Linked DNA regions of Homo sapiens: regions 1, 2 and 4 are each linked to region 3. Evidence: promoter capture Hi-C in 16 types of primary human blood cells and fetal thymus (Javierre and others, 2016). All regions are on one chromosome and are shown on one strand. The core of a region is centred on a gene start or on the middle of the fragment in contact, and the rest is flanking DNA. Distances in the headings are between cores, read along the strand shown.

Region 1 (2,700 bases), core at 99-2,598, 510 kb before region 3:
GTCTGGAATGGTGACAGAGCAAGACTCTGTCCCCCCCCCAACAAAAAAAAGAGGATCTGTTAGTATACTTTTATCTGTGAAGGATTTTGTAGTGAGCCTTATACATGGATGATATTATACCTTGATAGATGGGAGATGAAGGCTCAATGTAGGTGAGAAATTTTAATGGTACATATGTTACTTCATAATCATTCAGAAACAGAACATTGGTTCACCCCTCTTAACTTACATGATGGGTTAAAGAGAACATTGCCAGGAGGTCTTCACTCTTCTAGAAGGGCATCATTCGTTAGGTCCATTTTTCCATGGTTTGGAGTAAAAGAGGCATTGATTAGAAATGTATCCCTCATGATAGGCTCTACAGCAGATTCTACTGTAATAGATATGATTATACAACAGACTTTAAATTATTTGTGAAAGTTATGCTAAATAATAGAATTGCTTTAGATTACTTACTGGCTAAACAGAGAAATACCTGTGCAACTGCTGACACTTTGTAGCCTAATGAGAAATATCTTGTCTTGGGTATGACAGCGATTCAGTTGTAAGGGATTAATGAAGAGACTGCTTAGTTAAGCAAGTAGACTGTATATCTAGCTCATTTTTTTTTAACCTATTTGATTTTAGGAGTTGGTTTATGGGGACCCTGAGTAAAGAATATATGCCAAACTCTTGGTATTATCCTCATGATTGTCATAATAGTAGTCTCCTTGGTGCACTGTATTCTCTCAAAAGTTTTAAATGTTTGCATGCAGCCATCACTAAAATGTCAAATGGTCTTGCTTCAACTGGAATGACAAGGGCTGAAAGAAATGTGTGACCATAGGCCAGGCATGGTGGCTCATACTTGTAATCCCAGCACTTTTGGAGGCCAAGGCAGGCAGATGCCTTGAGTCCAGGAGTTTGAGACCAGCCTGGGCAACATGGCGAAACCCCATCTCTACAAAAAGTACAAAAATTAGCTGGGTGTGGTGGTGCACATCTGTAGTCCCAGCTACTCAGGAGGCAAAAGTGGGAGGATCACTTGAGCCCAGGAGGTGGAGGTTGAAATGAGCCGAGATCGCTCCACTGCACTCCAGCCTAGGTGACAGAGTAAGACCCTGTCTAAAAAAAAAAAAAAAAAAAGAAAAGAAATGTGTGACCATGAGGGCACTGTAACCTGTGAATGACATGCTGATACTGGAATCCAAAATGATGGCAACTGAGAGTTACACTAAGTTTTGGTCACCATCTCACCTAAGTGAGGACCAAATGGGGAAATTTGTAAACCAAATTATGGAAGGCCATTGTTTTGGACTGAGCTCATGCACTAGGCCCAAACAGACCAGACCAAACCAAAATGGAGTCACTTGTTCTAAATGTGACATAATCAAATTAAGATTTTAAGGAAGCACATAGATCCTAGAACAGACCAGGTTTTGTTTTTTCTCCTGTAAACAGGACGTCCCAGCATAAGGAAGTACCCTCTACCCTTAAAAAAACAACCCAAAGTCCTTGTTCTCACCTTGCAAAAACCCACTGTTCTACCATTTCCCAGTGGGTTTCAAGACCAAATAAGTACTTTTATGACGGTGATTGTGACATCAATGACTAAAGTTTCAGTAAATCTCTCAAAATTGAGAGGATGACCAAAAGGGGGAATTTGTTAAATCAAGTTTAGCCTAAAGCGGCTTCGTTACATATTTTCAGTTCGGCTTAAAGGTTTCATCATGAACTATAGCCTAAGTGGAAATGTGAACAAACTGTGGTCTACTCTTGTGCCAGTCACCAAATTTTGACCATCAAATGTGGCTAAATGTTCAAACTGTGTTCAAATAAGGCAAACGCCAAGCTATAACCAATGCAGCTGTTTCTGTACCTCAATTCCATTTTCTGTATGTCACTTTCCTTTTCCATCAGTAAATCTTCCACCACGTAGCTGCGCTGGAGTCTCTGAACCTACTCTGGCTTGGGAGGCTGCCAGTTTCGGGAACTGTTCATTGCTCAATTAAACTTTAAAAAATTTAATTCAGGCTGGGCACAGTGGCTCATGATGGGGCGGGTTGCCTCTCCACACCTGTGGGTGTTTCTCATTAGGTGGAACGAGGGACTTTGAAAAGAAAGAGACACAGAGACAAAGTATAGAGAAAGGAAAAAGGGGGCCTAGGGGACTGGTATTCAGCATTACGGAGGATTCTGCCAGCTTCTGAGTTCCTTTAGTATTTATTCATCATTCTTGGGTGTTTCTCGGAGAGGGGGATGTGGCAGGGTCATAGGATAATAGTGGAGAGCAGGTCAGCAGATAAACACGTGAACAAGGTCTCTGCATCATAGAGAAGGTAAAGAATTAAGTGCTGTGCTTTAGATATGTATACACATAAACATCTCAATGCCTTAAAGAGCAGTATTGCTGCCTGCTGTCCTACCTCCAGCCTTAAGGTGGTTTTCCTTTATCTTAGTAGATGGAATATACAATCGGGTTTTACACCAAGACATTCCATTGCCTAGGGACAGGCAGGAGACAGATGCCTTCCTCTTGTCTCAACTGCAAAGAGGCGTTCTTTCCTCTTTTACTAATCCTCCTCAGCACAGACCCTTTACGGGTGTCAGGCAGGGGGACGGTCAGGTCTTTCCTTTCTTACGAGGCCATATTTCAGACTATCACATGGGGAGAAACTTTGGACAATACCTGGCTTTCCTAGGCAGAGGCCCAAGCGGCCT
Region 2 (2,700 bases), core at 178-2,677, 540 kb before region 3:
TCTATAGATGAGACAGAGCTCTGCGGTGTCAGGGCGAGAACCCATCTTCCAACCCCGGCTATTTGGAGACGGAAAAACTGGAATTCTAACAAGGAGGAGAGGAGACTAAATCACATCAATTTGCAACTCTATGTTTCTTTGAATTCTTTTTATAAATTGGCTGATGTGTTGAGGGATATTTTAAAAGAATACCTATGGTTCTGGTGAATTCCACCTCACATATTCTGGGCTTGCACAGTGGCTAGGAAGAACCCATTGAATAAAAATAAATGTTCACTTCAGCAACACATATACTAAAATTGGAACAATACAGAGAAGATTAGCAAAAAGATATAAAAAAATTGAAAAATAAAAAGACATTCTGGGCCAGGGATGGTGGCTCATGCCTGTAATCCCAGCACTTTGGGAGGCCGAGGCAGGTGGATTGCCTGAGGTCAGGAGTTTGAGACCAGCTTGGGCAACATGGCAAAACTTCATCTTTACAAGAAGTACAAAAATTAGCTAGGAAGTAATGCGTGCCTGTAGTCCCAGCTCCTCAGGAGGCTGAGGTGGAAGGTTGGCTTGAGCCAGGGAGGCAGAGGTTGCAGTGAGCCAAGATCTCGCCATTGTACTCCACCCTGGGTGACAGAGCAAAACTTTACCCAAAAAAAAAAAAAAAAAAAGAAAAGAAAAGAAAAATAAAGACAAAGACATTCTGGGTTTGGAATTTCAAGTCTCATCTGTCCCAGAACACAAGTATGTTCCTGTTTTTAGGAGATCCCTGAACTGGATTTAAGGACAAGAGAAAATATTTCATGTTAGTTCTTCCTAATGCACCTTTATTAGCTAATTAAATTAAGCCTTCAATATAAACATATTAAAGAAGAGAAACAGGAGATAGCACAATCACCCATTTCTTTTATTCTTCCAGCTTTAGCAGACAGGGTAGTCTCTCCAGAGGTGCATGTGCCTGGCCACATCTGGAATCCCAACTCTAGTTGCTTACTAAAAAGGAGAGATGGCCAGGTGTGGTGGCTCACACCTGTAATCCCAGCACTTTGGGAGGCCGAGGCAGGCGAATCACAAGGTCAGGAGTTTGAGACCAGACTAGCCAATATGGTGAAACTCCATCTCTACTACAAATACAAAAATTAGCCAGGTGTGGTGGTGTGCACCTGTAGTCCCAGGTACTCAGGAGGCTGAGGCAGGAGAATCGCTTGAACCCAGTAGGTGGGGGTTGCAGTGAGCCAAGATTGCACCACTGCACTCCAGCCTGGGTGACAGAGCGAGACTACATCTCAAAAAAAAAAAAAAAAAAAAAGAGAGCCAGGCATTCCAATCAGGTCTCAAACAGGATGTTGACTACAGCAGTCCTGGCTGGTGAAGAGGGCTTGGACGTCTTATAGTTTTTTTGCTCCAGGCTGGGTGCGGTGGCTCATGCCTGTAATCCCAGCACTTTGGGAGGTCGAGGCGGGTGGATCACGAGGTCAAGAGATCGAGAACATCCTGGCCAACATGGTGAAACCCCGTCTGTACTAAAAATACAAAAATTAGCTGGGTGTGGTGGTGGGTGCCTGTCATCCCAGCTACTCGGGAGGCTGAGGTAGGAGAATCACTTGAACCCCAGAGGCGGAGGTTGCAGTGAGCTGAGATCGTGCCACTGCACTCCAGCCTGGGCAACAGAGTGAGACTGCGTCTCAAACAAAACAACACAACACAAAACAAACAAACAAAAAGTGCTTTGCTCCAAATGCAAATCTAATCATAACATTTCCCAAACCCATTACCACACTTTTTCTCCATTGCTCCCTGTGGACTAGAGCATTGGTTTTCAAATGGGATGGGAGGTAGGAGATGTAGTGGTGATTTTACCTCTCAGATAGGGTTTTTCACCTCTCAGATAGGGTTGCCAGATTTAGCAAATAAAGATATGGAAGGCCAACTTAAATTTGCATTTCAGATAAACAATCGATAATATTTTTAGTATGTTTGTCCCATGCAATATTTTACCTGGCAACCCTACATCTAGGGAACATTTGGCAATGTCTGGAGACACCGCAATGAGTGGTGGTGGAAGGCCTGGCAGGAGCGCTACTGACATCTAGTGAATAGAGGCTGGAGATGCTGTGAAACACCTTACACTGCACAGGACATCCCTGCTCCATGACAAAGAATGGTCTGATCTCAAATGCCAGCTGTGCTGCCATTGAGAAACAGAGGATTTTGTTTAAATTCTATAGAATGGAAGTCATGAAGCCCTGACAGCTGAAGGCAATAAAGAACTTTTTTTTTTTTTTTTTGAGATGGAGTCTTGCTCTGTCGCTCAGGCTGGAGTACAGTGGCAAGATCTTGGCTCACTGCAACCTCTGCCTCCCAGGTTCATGCCATTCCCCTGCCTCAGCCTCCCAAGTAGCTGGGACTACAGGCACCCACGACCATGCCCGGCTAATTTTTTGTATTTTTGGTAGAGACAGGGTTTCACTGTGTTAGCCAGGATGGTCTTGATCTCCTGACCTCGTGATTTGCCTGCCTCAGCCTCCCAAAGTGCTGGGATTACAGGGCTGAGCCACCGTGCCAAGCCCAAGAGCATTTAAAAAAAGAGATTTAAGGCCAGGCATGGTGGCTCACGCCTGTAATCCCAGTACTTTGGGAGGCCAAGGGGAGCGGATCACCTGAGGTCAGGAGTTCGAGACCAGCCTGGCCAACTGGTGAAACCCCATC
Region 3 (2,700 bases), core at 26-2,525:
CACACACCTATCCACATACACTCCATTCTGCTCTTACACACCCACCTTCCTCAGTACCTACACACCTCTTTCCCGTGAACCCCTCTCCCAGTACACACACATAGACATACACGCCCTCCCCTAAGTATACATATAAACACATATCCAAACACACAGCAGATGCATGGTCAGCCGCTCCCTGGGTGCACACACACTCAAGCACAGAAAAACACCTACACATCCAAACCAGGGGCCCACCTGCAGGAACATGCAGCACGTCAAGGCGTGCACACACACCAAAACAAAGAATCATGCACACGGATCCTCCACCAACCCTTCAAAACTCACTAACGCAGAGCCCACAGTCCCCCAGATGGGTAAATATGAGTGGGGAGAGGGATGCCAGCGCCTGTCCCCTCGGCCCCTATACACAGTCTACCGCCTCCAGCCCCATCCTCGGTCTGTACATACACCCTATCTACTCTGCCCAACCCGCCCCCCTGACTCCACTCTACACCCTTAACGCATACCTGCCTCCGTCCCTCCCCACGCTCCTGAGGGGTGTATGCACCCCAAAACACCCTTGGCTTCCAATACCTCCAGACTCCGATCCTTCCACGCCTCTCCCCCCACCTCCAACACAAGCTCCCCGTCTCCGGCTTCAACCGGCTCCCCTGGGATCATTAAGGCCCCCGCCCGGGCCCAGGAAAGTCCCCGGCTCTCCAGGCCTGGGCTCCGCCCCCTCCCCACGAGCCCCTTCCCCTCCCCAAAGTTGGGGGGGGTACTCCGCTGTGCAGTGGGGAAGCGGACCGGAAGGGGGTTGCCCGGAGTCCAGCCCCCCTTCCCCCATAAGCCACCCCGCTCGCTCTGGGGTCGGGCACCCCCTGGCCCCTTGCATGATTTTCCTCCTTTTCCATTTCTTTTTTTCTCTCTCTTTCTTTCTTCTTTTTTTTTCAAACTTTGCCCGCGCCCCCGCGGCCCGGCACTCACCCGCCGCTGCGAACTGCCGGGTGGGCTCCGCGGGCGCCCCGCTCGGCCCGTCGCCTTTGTATCCGCAGCGCTCCGGGTCGCTCCGAACTCGGCGCTCCTGGACAGGCAGCGCGCGCGATGGGGGATGTTGAGGGGGGGGTTCTTGAGTCTGGTCACCCCCTGCTCCGTCCCAGACCGCTGCCTCTTCCCCCTCAAGGCCCCGGGGGCTGGGGGCCAGGGGGGAATAGGGGGCGCTCAGGCTCCCATGGCGGGACCAAGGATCAAGGAATCAAGGATCAGGAATCAGATCGGGAGCCGGCGGCGCAGGGGGGAGGGGGCGGAGGGGGAGGGGATGAGGGTGGGGGGTGCAGGGGGCGGGGGAGCGCGAGCTCCCGGGTGCCGCCTCCCGGCTGTTCCCACAGCCGCCGCCCCTCCTACCGCCGCGTCCATTGTCTGCGGCCCCGCTCTTCCCGGAGTCGCCGCTCCCCCAGCCCTGCGCCTTCAGATGCCCAGCGGCCCTCCCCGATCCTGGGAATCCGCGGTGGGGCTGACACTCGGGTCCCGAACGGTGGGCAGGGGAATGCCTCGATTCTTGGACTTGGCCCAGCCCGCAGTCCCTCCTGGGGCTGTCTTCCTGGACCCCTCCTGTCGGAGAAGGAGCCCCCAGATCCCTGGGGCTGGCCATATTCTCTTTAGGGCCACGGACCCGACTACACAAAATCCAATGGAATCTGGGACGTGGGAAGATTGATTTTTTTTTTCCCCCTAGGGGTCCGAGAAGGGAGGGTCATCCCTGATTTTAATTAGTGGCGAGAGGCGCACGCCTCTTCCCATGCATACGGGGATTTCCCTGACACCATCACCACCATATCCCCTCCTTCCAAAAATAATTTAATTACTTGGAGTTCTAGCTGCGAGCAGCGACCGCCCCAGTCAGTCTGGGACGCTCCCTCATTAACACATTTTTCCTCCCCTCTGGTTTGAGTGTTGGGATTAATTACAAAGGGAACCCTGCCTTAGGGAAGAAGGGGAGGAGGAAAAGACGCGGGCGCCTGGGAGTTTGAATGGCAGAGGAGAGGGGGCCTTCTCCCAGGAAACCTCCAAGAGGAAAAATGCCTTGGCCAGTTGGGTCCCCAACCCCAAGCAGGCAGATTGTCCATCCCAGGAGTTTCAGATACTTTAGAGTTGAAGGTGCCACACAGGGATTGTAGGATCTCACAAAATATCCTACACGTTTGGGGCATTTGTGCCTCCCAGTATGCCAAGAAACCAGTTAGGGTTCTTTTACATGTGACCCTACAAGAGTGAACCCACACCGTAAAAGCCTGGGCTGTGGGAAGTCCATGTTCCCCTTGGAGTAAGTGAAAGCAGTATTCAATTATCATTAATGTTATTGCCGTGCAACCCGCCACTTAGAGTAGTATCATTTCAAAAGCATCTTCACATACTTCTCCCTAAGCAGGCCAAGGCCTTTTCAATATCTCAGCCTCCTTCAGTTTCCAATCCTGGCACCTGCTTGAACAACCCTGTGATTAAGGAATCCCAGAGAAAGAGACTCCCAGCCTCTGTTCCTCACTTGTTTGGGAATTTTTGCTCCTCCCTGATGAAAACTATTTCCTGAGACCTAATCTCACCCCTTTTGATGGTTCATTCTAACCTGTCCAAAGATGAGGACAGAACCAACTATGCTGCATTGTTCAAAGATGCAGAACAGTAAAACACACTTCCTTTCTCCTTTGCCCAAACTCTGTC
Region 4 (2,700 bases), core at 165-2,664, 590 kb before region 3:
CTGCACATTTTGGGAGAAGGCATTTATTTGTAGGGGCTGAAATGTGCTAGCTCGAGAATCAGACCTAAGAATTACAAGGTGATTAACCAAAGGAAAAAGTCTCTGGAAGTAGAAAACTAAAAAGAAGGTTTGGAACAGGCTGGAAGTGAGATTGAAGCATATCACAGAAATGTTAGACATTCTTCAATGTCAGTGCCTTGGATGAATTTATAAGGCTTTGCCTTAAAGTTACTTGTGGGCTTATAAAGCCTGTGTCAAAGCTAAACAAAGCCAGACAATAGTTTAGACAAGAAGTAAGGATAGGTATTTATTTATTTATTTGAGATGGAGTTTCACTCTTGTCGCCCAGGCTGGAGGGTAATGGCGCGATCTTGGCTCACCGCAACCTCCGTGTCCGGGGTTCAAGCGATTCTCCTGCCTCAGCCTCCTGAATAGCTGGGATTACAGGCATGCACCACCACGCCCGGCTAATTTTTTTGTATTTTTAGTGGAGACAGCGTTTCTCCATGTTGGTCAGGCTGGTTTTGAACTTTTGACCCCAGGTGATCTGCCCACCTCGGCCTCCCAAAGTGTTGGGATTACAGGCGTGAGCCACTGCACCCGGCCTAGGATAGGTTTTTTTAAGTAGTAACTATTGCAGTAGGGAAGAGGGCCCAAGGTGAACTGAACTTAACTTCCTTAAAAAAAAAAAAAATGCAGGAGGCCTTTTGAAGGCTGGGATGTGCTAAGGGATAGGCATGAAGATATTAAGGAGAATTGCTCCATGTGACTAGACAATCTGGATTTGTGAATTGGCTCTTGTCCAGAAGAGAAATAAGCACCTATTTTTACGACAGGAGCTAGTAGTGCAAGTTAGAGCAAGGCACCCACCTGGTTGGGAGCTGGAGCAAGATTTATTTCCTCAAATGTTTGCATTTCAAAGAAACTCTCAGGTCCCAGTGAAAATAGCTCTGGGTAGAAGATTTACATCTCAAAGAGGCAGAGAAAGATGTTTTAATTGCAAGCTTTCTTTCTAAGTAATTGCACTAAGATGAAGTTCAGGGGCCTGTGTCTATTGCTAGGTTTGGGCTGGGATGCACAGTAAATTTTTCTGACAGCGATGAGCTTTTTCAGGCAGGCATTTTAAGCGGGGGGCTGAGGTCCTCCTAGGGACAAGGCCTTAAGTTGCTAGAAGCCATGCTAGAGCTTGGTTAAGGAGAGTCTTTGTTACCTGGCGTCTCTCTGCAGTGCCGTTTCAATGCCTTAGAGCAAGAGAGTGGTGGATGGACAGTGATAGTGATTCACGTGCGCAATTCACAACTTGCATTAGCAACCAGGCAAAAGCAAGTGCTGCTTTTAGAGGCCTTGGGAAGAATTTCCACAAGTTTCCGGCCATTGGGATACAGGGGAAAAGGGATTGGAGGGAGGCTCATCGGGAACAATACATTAGGTAATGTTGGGGTTTATAAATCGATACCCCCAAATATAGTACTGAACCGAAGAAGCAACCTGAAGATCTCTCTGACCTTCCCCGCTCCACACGGTCTCTCCCAAAAAGCTGAAGTTCCTTTATTTGCCTAAGATCCAGACCCTCCAAGGAGAACAGTAGGTTTCTTTTCCTCCTGTAAGACCAAAAATGTAACCACACCTGAACAGACCTTTTCATGAGTTAATGCCTGCTTCTCATGGTCATCTAAATTCCAAAGAAAACTATTTACAAGTTAATTTGTTTCCTGATCAAATCATTCTCTTTAGTAATCATTTATTGCCCATCAACAGAATTCCTTTTCTCCCGCAGGATCCAAACTCATTCTTTCTGTAACCTCATGATGGCGTATAAGCTTTTGCACCTCACTGGGAGGTTGGGTCTTCATTCTGAAGGCTTCTATGTATACATATTAAATAAGTTTGTATGCCTTTTTTCCTATTAATCTGCCTTGCGTCAGTGATTTTCAGCAAACTTCAGGGAGCCAAAGGCCTTGGCTCCCACAGTGATAATAAACAATATGACTTTTGGCTATCAAAATTCCTGCTGTTAGTTAAGGAAAAATTGTGACAGTTTCTGAAATGGACAAATACAGGCATCCTTCCAGTGGATTACTAGGATTTGTCTAGACTAGAGGACAGGATGCTTCTGGGGGTTTTCTGATTCTCTACAGGTCAGTATCCTTCCTTGTCTTGTACTGTTTTGCAACTCTAGAAAGAAAAGTTAAATATGTAGAAGCCTGACAGTGATACAAATGATCCCTGTTCATATTAATACAAATGCAAATTGTTTGCCTGGTAGAGATACAATTGATTTTCTCTCTGTAGAAAAAAAGATGATCCCAGCCAGGCGTGGTGGCTCACCCTGCAATTCCAGCACTTTGGGAGGCCGAGACAGGCAAATCACAAGGTCAGGAGTTCGAGACCAGCCTGGCCAATATGGTGAAACCCTGTCTCTACTAAAAATACAAAAATTAGCCAGGCGTGGTGGTGGGCGCCTGTAATCCCAGCTACTCTGGAGGGTGAGGCAGGAGAATTGCTTGAATCTGGGAGGCGGAGTTTGCAGTGAGCTGAGTCCTCGCCATTGCATTCCAGCTTGGGCAACAGAGTGAGATTACATCTCAAAAAAAAAAAAAAAAAAAAAAGAATCCCAGAAATTAAATGTTTTATATTTTTGCCACAAGAAAACACGTGCAAGTATGAAACTTTTTGTAAGGTCCTCTGAGCTGGCTGCAC

Evidence for each region. Contacts are between HindIII fragments. The CHiCAGO score rates a contact against its expected background, and 5 or more counts as called.
Region 1: a contact is called between a fragment that was not itself captured here and the fragment with the promoter of VANGL2 in region 3, in 1 of 17 cell types (non-activated CD4 T cells). The highest score is 5.6, in non-activated CD4 T cells.
Region 2: a fragment that was not itself captured here is called in contact with the fragment with the promoter of VANGL2 in region 3 in 1 of 17 cell types (non-activated CD4 T cells); the score reaches 5.2 in non-activated CD4 T cells.
Region 4: a fragment that was not itself captured here is called in contact with the fragment with the promoter of VANGL2 in region 3 in 2 of 17 cell types (non-activated CD4 T cells and total CD4 T cells); the score reaches 8.1 in non-activated CD4 T cells.

What each region holds. Positions count from the first base shown.
Region 1 is chr1:160,913,453-160,916,152 of GRCh38, reverse strand. No RefSeq gene overlaps it. Among named protein-coding and RNA genes, the nearest start is that of ITLN1, 30 kb to the right of the region's middle. RefSeq lists an enhancer at 2,102-2,700. The HindIII fragment of the contact is 4,529 bases long and covers 1-2,700 here.
Region 2 is chr1:160,942,451-160,945,150 of GRCh38, reverse strand. It overlaps LOC101928372 (a long non-coding RNA gene), which reads right to left. Exons shown (of 6, transcript NR_110695.1): 4 at 193-293; 5 at 1-85. ITLN2 (intelectin 2) reads left to right here. Exons shown (of 8, transcript NM_080878.3): 8 at 1-126. The coding sequence ends at 11. Among named protein-coding and RNA genes, the nearest start is that of ITLN2, 11 kb to the left of the region's middle. The HindIII fragment of the contact is 4,320 bases long and covers 1-2,700 here.
Region 3 is chr1:160,399,139-160,401,838 of GRCh38, reverse strand. It overlaps VANGL2 (VANGL planar cell polarity protein 2), which reads right to left and starts at 1,275. Exons shown (of 8, transcript NM_020335.3): 1 at 970-1,275. The region is part of intron 3 of LOC105371466 (a long non-coding RNA gene); the gene reads left to right. The HindIII fragment of the contact is 3,661 bases long and covers 1-2,700 here.
Region 4 is chr1:160,986,067-160,988,766 of GRCh38, reverse strand. No RefSeq gene overlaps it. Among named protein-coding and RNA genes, the nearest start is that of ITLN2, 33 kb to the right of the region's middle. RefSeq lists a silencer at 1,074-1,368. The HindIII fragment of the contact is 816 bases long and covers 1,007-1,822 here.